2 separate regions of the Homo sapiens genome follow, and region 2 is linked to region 1. Evidence: promoter capture Hi-C in 16 types of primary human blood cells and fetal thymus (Javierre and others, 2016). All regions are on one chromosome and are shown on one strand. The core of a region is centred on a gene start or on the middle of the fragment in contact, and the rest is flanking DNA. Distances in the headings are between cores, read along the strand shown. Region 1 holds the start of PLXNB3 (plexin B3). Region 2 overlaps MECP2 (methyl-CpG binding protein 2).

Region 1 (3,471 bases), core at 949-3,448:
ACGTCCCACTGACCCAACGAGTCCCCTTCCAGCATTGAGAAGCCTGGCACACAGCAAGGAGACGACACCAGATCAGTTGACGCTGCCTTCCCATCCCTTGGTGAGGGGACCCGGCCATTGCAGGATAAATCCAGCACGACTCCCCTGACATAAGATGTTCCGGTTCCCCAAACCAGCCTAGATCCTTTCTGGTTACACCAGCTTCAGACCAGGGGCTGCCATAGCCACGCCTCTTATCTGCTCAGAAAGCGTAGAAGGTGCATATGCAGGCCATATACACACATATTTATGAAAATGGTGCTGCCTGTGGATGGATTTATTTTCTTTTTTCTTTCTTTCTTTTCTTTTTTTTTTAAAGACAGAGTCTTGCACTGTCACCCAGGCTAGAGTGCAATGGCACCATCACGGCTCACTGCAGGCACCAACTCCCAGGCTCAGGCGATCCTCCCACTTCAGCCTCCCAAGTAGCTGGGACTACAGGCTCGCACCACCATGCCTGGCTAATTTTTAAATTTTTTTATAGAGATGGGGGTCTCACTATGTTGCCCATGCTGGTCTAGAACTCCTGGGCCCAAGTGATCCTGCTGCCTTAGGCTCCCAAAGTGCTGGGATTACAGGCGGGAGCCACGACGCCCAGCCTGATTTATTTTCTTCTGTGGAAAGGAAGGAGAAACCCATTCCCCATGCCAGATTGCAGGCGTCTGTCTCATCCGGGGCCAGCAAGGACATGTGTGTGTGTGTTGGGGTAGGCATGGGGGGAAGGACAGGGAGAGGGAGAGAGGCCAGCTGGCTCCCCCAAGCCTCCCCTCCTGGAGCTTCTAAATCCCTCCCTGGCTCCTTCAAGGCTGCCTGGCCTTCCTGTTGGGGAGAGACCCCTCGCCGGCTGCTCACTCGCTTTTTGGTGGTCCTTCCCACGGGCCTGCCTGGTCTGCCTCCACATCCTCAGCGGCTGCAGGTGAGAAGCTGTGGATCTGGGGCCCAGTGGTCCAGAGCGTGGCCCGTGCCAGAATGCCCAGGTTCAAATCCCATCTCTGTGGAATGCACTCTGAAGAAACGACGTCAGGTCATGGCCCTGGGCAAGTTACCCACCTCTGTGCCCCATTTCTCTCCATGCAGGTTGGAAAGAATGACACAGCTGCTCAGGGAAGCACCCATACCCCGAGTCTGCTGGGCCTTTGAGCTCCAGGGCCAACACCTGGCCCTATACCCTGGCCGCCCCCAGGGCTCCAGCCACCTGAGCCAAGCTTCTCACCCCCAGGCCTCCCCAGCCCCATCACCATTTCCTCCTCCCTCATGGGCCCCTCAGTCTTACCGTCCTCCCACTTCCGCCAGCCCCTCTGTGGATGGCCCTGCCACAGGGGGAACAGTGCCCCAGCAGAAAAGCCCCAGGGTCGCCTGGATTCTCCTGCCTTCGCCTCCTGCCCTGGGTCCAACGCACAGTCTTCAGAATGCTGCCTCCCCAGAGCGCCTCTAGAACGCGCCCGCCTCTCTCCATGCCCATGACCACCACTGGACCAGGCCTCCCCACATTCTCTGCCCCAGTGCCACCAGCTTGCAGTTGCCCATGGCGAGACAAGTTCAAGTTCTCAAGCCTGGCCACAAAGACCCCACCTGATTTGCTGACCTCCGCCACACCCTGGGAGACGGCCCTTGACCAACCTTGTGTTCCAGTCGGTGGGAAACACTGGTTTTTCCTCAACGCCACGTGGGCATGTCACGTCCAGGCCTGGCCTGGGGTAGGCCTCAGCTCCATCTCCTGCCCAACGCCTGCCAAGGTTCATGGTTCAAGGTCATGTAGCCTGACGGTTAAGTGAAGGGGCCCTGTGATTGACTCAGCCTTGCCACATACTAGCTGTGTGACTTTATTCAAGTTTCCTAACCTCCTGTGCCTCAGTTTCCCAACCTGTGTTTGTTTCTGGATGGTGCCAGTGCCAAGCCCAAGCCTGGCATCCAGTAGGTGCTTCGTGCCAGGTTATGGAATGCCCACCCAATAGGAGGGCGCTGCCGTCTCTCACCTGCCAGGTGCCCACGGTCAGTACTCCATCATGCCCGCTGCGGCCAGCAGAGGGCAGCAACATCCTGCCCTGTGCCATTGGGCAAAGGGGCGGGCGGAGAGAGGCTGGGCTGCCTGGCCGGGCTTGTTGGGATGAGTCGGACTGGGCACGATTGCATTGTGGGGAGGGAGGCTGGGGCTCTGTGAGACGTGCTCCTGGCACCGCCAGCTGCTACTTGGCCCTCGCCGGTGGCCCACCAGGTAGGCAAGAGCTGGGGCAGGCTTGGGCTTGGGCTTGGGGTGCAGGGGCTACCAGCCTCAGGGCAAGGCATCAGGGTCTCAGGGCCAACTGGCTGGGGTCAGGCAAGAGCGCTCGGGTGTCGGCCCAGCCTGACGACGGCACTAGGTGTCTGGGAGCACGGTGTCCCCCAAGTGGTAGCCCTGGGGTTAGGAGGTGGGGAACCATGTTTCTTCCCCGAAATGGGAAAGCCAACGCCAGCCTCGGGCAGGGTACAGGGTAGAGAGGCTGCCCGCCTGGCTCCCCACCCCCACAGCCACCCAACTGGCCCAGCCAGGTGACAGCAGCCCACTGCCACCTTGCCCTGGAGCCTACTGCTGCCGTGCTGTGGGGGAGGCAGAGACCCCATCCCCAGTGCACCTGCTCCTGTGCCACTGGCCAGGGTGGCCTGTGAGGGTGACAGGGGGTCTAGCTGCTAGGTGCCCCTCCCTTCCCCATCCCCTGCATGGATGGCATCTAGGCCAGCAGGACGGTGCTTCAGAGGGTGGGGTGGACAGCCCCGGCCTGTGGACCCTCTGCCTCAGCCCATCTCAAGCAGCCTCCTCCCGTGGTCCTGCTCGCTGCCACCATGCTGTACCTGGCACCACTTCACCAGTCCCCAGGGGCAGGGCTGGGCTGGGGGTGTGGAGGAAGATCTTTTGGACAAAGGCAGGCATTGAGGGCCAGGACTGGCACTTCACCCAGGCCCCAAGGCTACCAGCCGGCATTTGCAGGGGCTCCAAGGTCCACCCCGTGCCCTTCACAGGGACCCGGGGAGCCAGGGAGGGGCATGCTTAGTGACACAGGGGTTGCAGGGCCAGAGGGGGAGGGCTGGCTGGAGGAAACCCCGGCCCTTTGTCCCCGGATCCCGGGGGTGGCTCCCTGAGGGTGGGAAGTGGCAAGGAGCCCCCTGTCCAGAACAGCCCAGTGGGGGTGACAGCACTAGCGAGTGGGGCCCTGGCCTGGCCTCTGGACAGAGGGAACATTGTTGTGGTGGAGGCAGGGCTGCCTTGGCCTGGCCACTATTGACAAAGCTGCCAGCTGTGAGGGAGCCCGGTCGCTAGGCCCTGGGCGCCACCCCCACCGCCGCCCCTCCTTCCCCAGGCCAGCTCGAATGGGGCTGAGCCTCGACTGTCTCCCTCCCACTCAGGACAATGCCCCCCCGCAGCCATCTCATGCCCATCGCCACTGCCCTGGGGCA
Region 2 (3,454 bases), core at 218-2,717, 290 kb after region 1:
AGACACAGAGTAATACAGGGCAATAATGCCTACATGTCTGCTTCTTGTAAGACCAATGAACCTAATGAGCTTTTACCAAGACAAGGAAAAACGGGAGAAGGTACAAGTAAACAACAAACACTAGGAATGAAAAAGCAGACATAATTACAGATGTTGCAAATGTATAAACTATAACATGAACAACTTTATGCTAGTCAGACAAAATGGACAAATTCCTAGAAAAAAAAATTTAACAGCTTACAGTAGCCCAAGCAGGTGCAGGGAAAATAAAAATAGGTTTAGATGTGTCTGCGTGTACATAGAACACCTCAAAAGACACAGACAAGACCCTGGATGCAGCCGTTCCCTGAAGAGAGGCCTAGGCAGCTGGGAGACCAGGGCAGCAGGGACACTCAGACCTTGCATCACTCTGGAGTTTGCACTTCCTGAATTGTGAAGCATGCACATGTCTCACTTATGCAACAGTGAATCCAAACGTGCCTGTATACAAGGAAAGGCCTCACCTGGCTGCGCCGTGGAGGCTGGCCTGGCGTGTGGAGCAGGCAGAACATTAGCAAGCTACCGAGCAGGTGCAGGTATGAACATCAGCTGACGCTGGCTCTTTGCTTTCTTTTTAATCTTGACAAATTTGGTAGGTGAAAAGGCATCATTTTTGTTCTCGTTTGCATCTCTTTGATTACCAGCAGGCAGAACTCTTTTCCTATCTTCATTGGCCATCTGTATCTCTTCTTTTATGAATTTCCTGTTCATAGTCTTTGTTCATTAGTGGTGACTAGTGGTAAGTTAGCAATAAGAACTGTTTGCATTCAAGTCTAGACTGAGAAGGAAATTAAAAAATCTGCCCATGTATTCTCACAATAAATGACTACTGACTAGCCTGAGATAATTGTACCCACTGCCCAGTCACAGGCATTAAGCCTAGGATGATTCATTTCAGACTTGTCCCTGACCTTCCTCATACCCTTTCCAGAAGGGCCCCTTGAGCTGCTATGATACTCCTAAATCACTATCCCATTACCCAAATGATGGAGAGCCAATCAAAAGCTTAGACCAGGACGCTTTCCCAAATTATGTCCCAATACCTTCACAATGATCACTTTATATACAATCTCACTGAATGCTCAGCAACACACGAGAGCAATGTTTAACTGAGGGCAACACTGAGGCTCAAGGAGGGCAAGTGACTTGATTGCTGAGGTCACCTGCTAGGTGCAAGAGCTGAGAATTAATCCCAAGGCTACCTGGCTCAAAAAGCCTAAGCTCATCTACTATACTTGAGGCGAAATCATGAAAGTGTGTTTTTACCTTGCCCAGACCCTGCACACTGCATCAAGGTCCTGAGTTTCAAGCAACAGAAATCAACTCTGGTTAAATTCAATCACAAAGGAGTTCTTGGGCAGCAGATCTGGAAATGGAGAGAGAACTAGAGAACTAGGCTCAGAAAAGCAGCAGGAATAGAGGCTGCACCACTGCAAACACAGCCAAGGTTATACTGCAGGGACCTGCTGGTTGGGACACCCACCCTGGGCACTGTTGCATGTCATCACTGGACATTAGCCACCACTGCTGGTTTTGTGACTCAACTGCCACCACCATGACTAATCCCTCACTGTCCCTCAAGAGTCAAAGTCCCTGAAGGCAGAATGGGTTTGGCCAAACCTAGGCTTCATCGCCATCCCCTAGTTTCCAGAGAGCAAGGGGAGGGAATATATCCATTCCCCTGTGGCAGGCACTGCCAGTTGTCCCCCAACATCCATGTTCTCCATCTGCCTTACTAATGAGACCCTGCGCTCAGCTAAGGAGAGTTATTCCCCGCTTCCCAGCAGACCATGGGACTACGTTATGGCTAAGGAGACAGTGGCCGAGTGCACTCCTGTTCATCGTTCTCTTTCAAGCTTGCTCTTGTTCTACTGACTATGGGCGGAGCACACCTCCCACCCACTGACTCTGGGCTTGCTCACGTGTTGATGGGATGGGGGAAGAAGAGGCTTTAAGAGGCTTCTGTGACTCTGCTCACTCCTCTTGGACTCCTGACCTCCGCCTACGAAGAGACTTCCCCTGGCAGCTGCTTCTCCCTCCTGGGTCCTGGAACGACAGGCTTGAGAACAGATCTGAATCCCATCTTGCAGCTGACCCAGACCCATGTGTGAGAAATAATAATTGCTGTTATAGCTACTGAGCTGCTGGTGCTGTTTGTTCCCTAGGACAAGATGATGGGTGTGAAGATGGAAATGGAAATATTGAATGGGCCTAGAAGTTAAGATGTCAAGTGCCATTTTGCCTTTCCCCTATGACCTCTTTCTTCCTACCTGGAGGAGTGGATGCAATGACTAGAGCAGCAACCGTCATCTCACAACCAAGAGGCAATCTTGAGAAATGGAAGACACCCACTGAGGGGCCCTGGGTCCTGGATCCTTACAAAGCCACTGCAGTGGTCATGGACAGCATGAGAAGGAAGTACACCACAGGCCCCCAACCCCATCTTCAGGTTTTCTTAGGTAGAAACTAGGGTCCACCTGCCTCTTACTAAGATATACACAATGGGGAGACTTTTAACACAAAAAAAGGTATGAAGATGGTCAGAAGCCAAAAAAGCAACAAAATGTTCATGATATGCCGTATGTGGGGTTTACTCACTACACTGCTTTTCCACCGAGTTAGCATAATCACTATAACTCAACCCATTGAAAAAATGACAAAACAGATTCTGAGATTCTCTTCCTATTTCTGTTAGCTAAAAAAGCAGCCTTTGAATTGTTTATAAGTGAATTCAAGAGATAAAAATAAACCCAGATAATTCAGAATGTACTGAGTACAACACATATGCCTTCTATGTGATAAGCTCCCAGCATTATTTATTCAAAGAAAACTTGCCTTGTTGCAAAAATATAAAAAAACTTAAAAAAAAAAAACAAGTAATTACACAACACACCACCTCCTACAACACCAGATTCCTTTTCTTTCCTTTGTAACCTGACCAGAAGAAAAACAAAACATTGTTCAAATTGCTGAGACCCACAAAGTTCAATTAGAGCATAAAAAATGCTCTCCCAAAATATAGCTACTAGCAGGGAAATGAGCAGGCTAAGCCTCCTGGTGAACCTGGACATTGGGCACAAGTAACAGGCACATTTAGACACCAACGACCAGATTCCACATGACTGAATCCAGAAACCCTGCCCCTTCCCATTCCCTTGGAGATCCAGGGGGACGCCATCAATTGCTCACTCCTTCTCCTTACACATACAGTTAGGGGTGCTATACTATACAGGGGAAGGCGTGAGGAAGTCACACATGCTTTGGTGTTCAAGAAGCTCATAAAGCCATTAGGGAAAGAGCAACATGCCAGAAAGCAGTTGTCTCTTCTGGCTACAGAGGTTGCAAAAGACGTCTGCAAGGGTCAGTGAGGGCCCAAAGGAGTAGTAACCAAGGCCCTGAAGCCTGCCTGGGAGCT

Evidence for each region. Contacts are between HindIII fragments. The CHiCAGO score rates a contact against its expected background, and 5 or more counts as called.
Region 2: a fragment that was not itself captured here is called in contact with the fragment with the promoter of PLXNB3 in region 1 in 1 of 17 cell types (activated CD4 T cells); the score reaches 5.5 in activated CD4 T cells.

What each region holds. Positions count from the first base shown.
Region 1 is chrX:153,762,051-153,765,521 of GRCh38, forward strand. It overlaps PLXNB3 (plexin B3), which reads left to right and starts at 2,199. Exons shown (of 36, transcript NM_005393.3): 1 at 2,199-2,254; 2 at 3,421-3,471. It overlaps PLXNB3-AS1 (PLXNB3 antisense RNA 1), which reads right to left. Exons shown (of 3, transcript NR_199696.1): 2 at 1,660-1,799. The HindIII fragment of the contact is 7,823 bases long and covers 1,243-3,471 here.
Region 2 is chrX:154,056,438-154,059,891 of GRCh38, forward strand. All of the region lies in intron 1 of MECP2 (methyl-CpG binding protein 2), which reads right to left. Among named protein-coding and RNA genes, the nearest start is that of MIR718, 38 kb to the left of the region's middle. The HindIII fragment of the contact is 851 bases long and covers 1,043-1,893 here.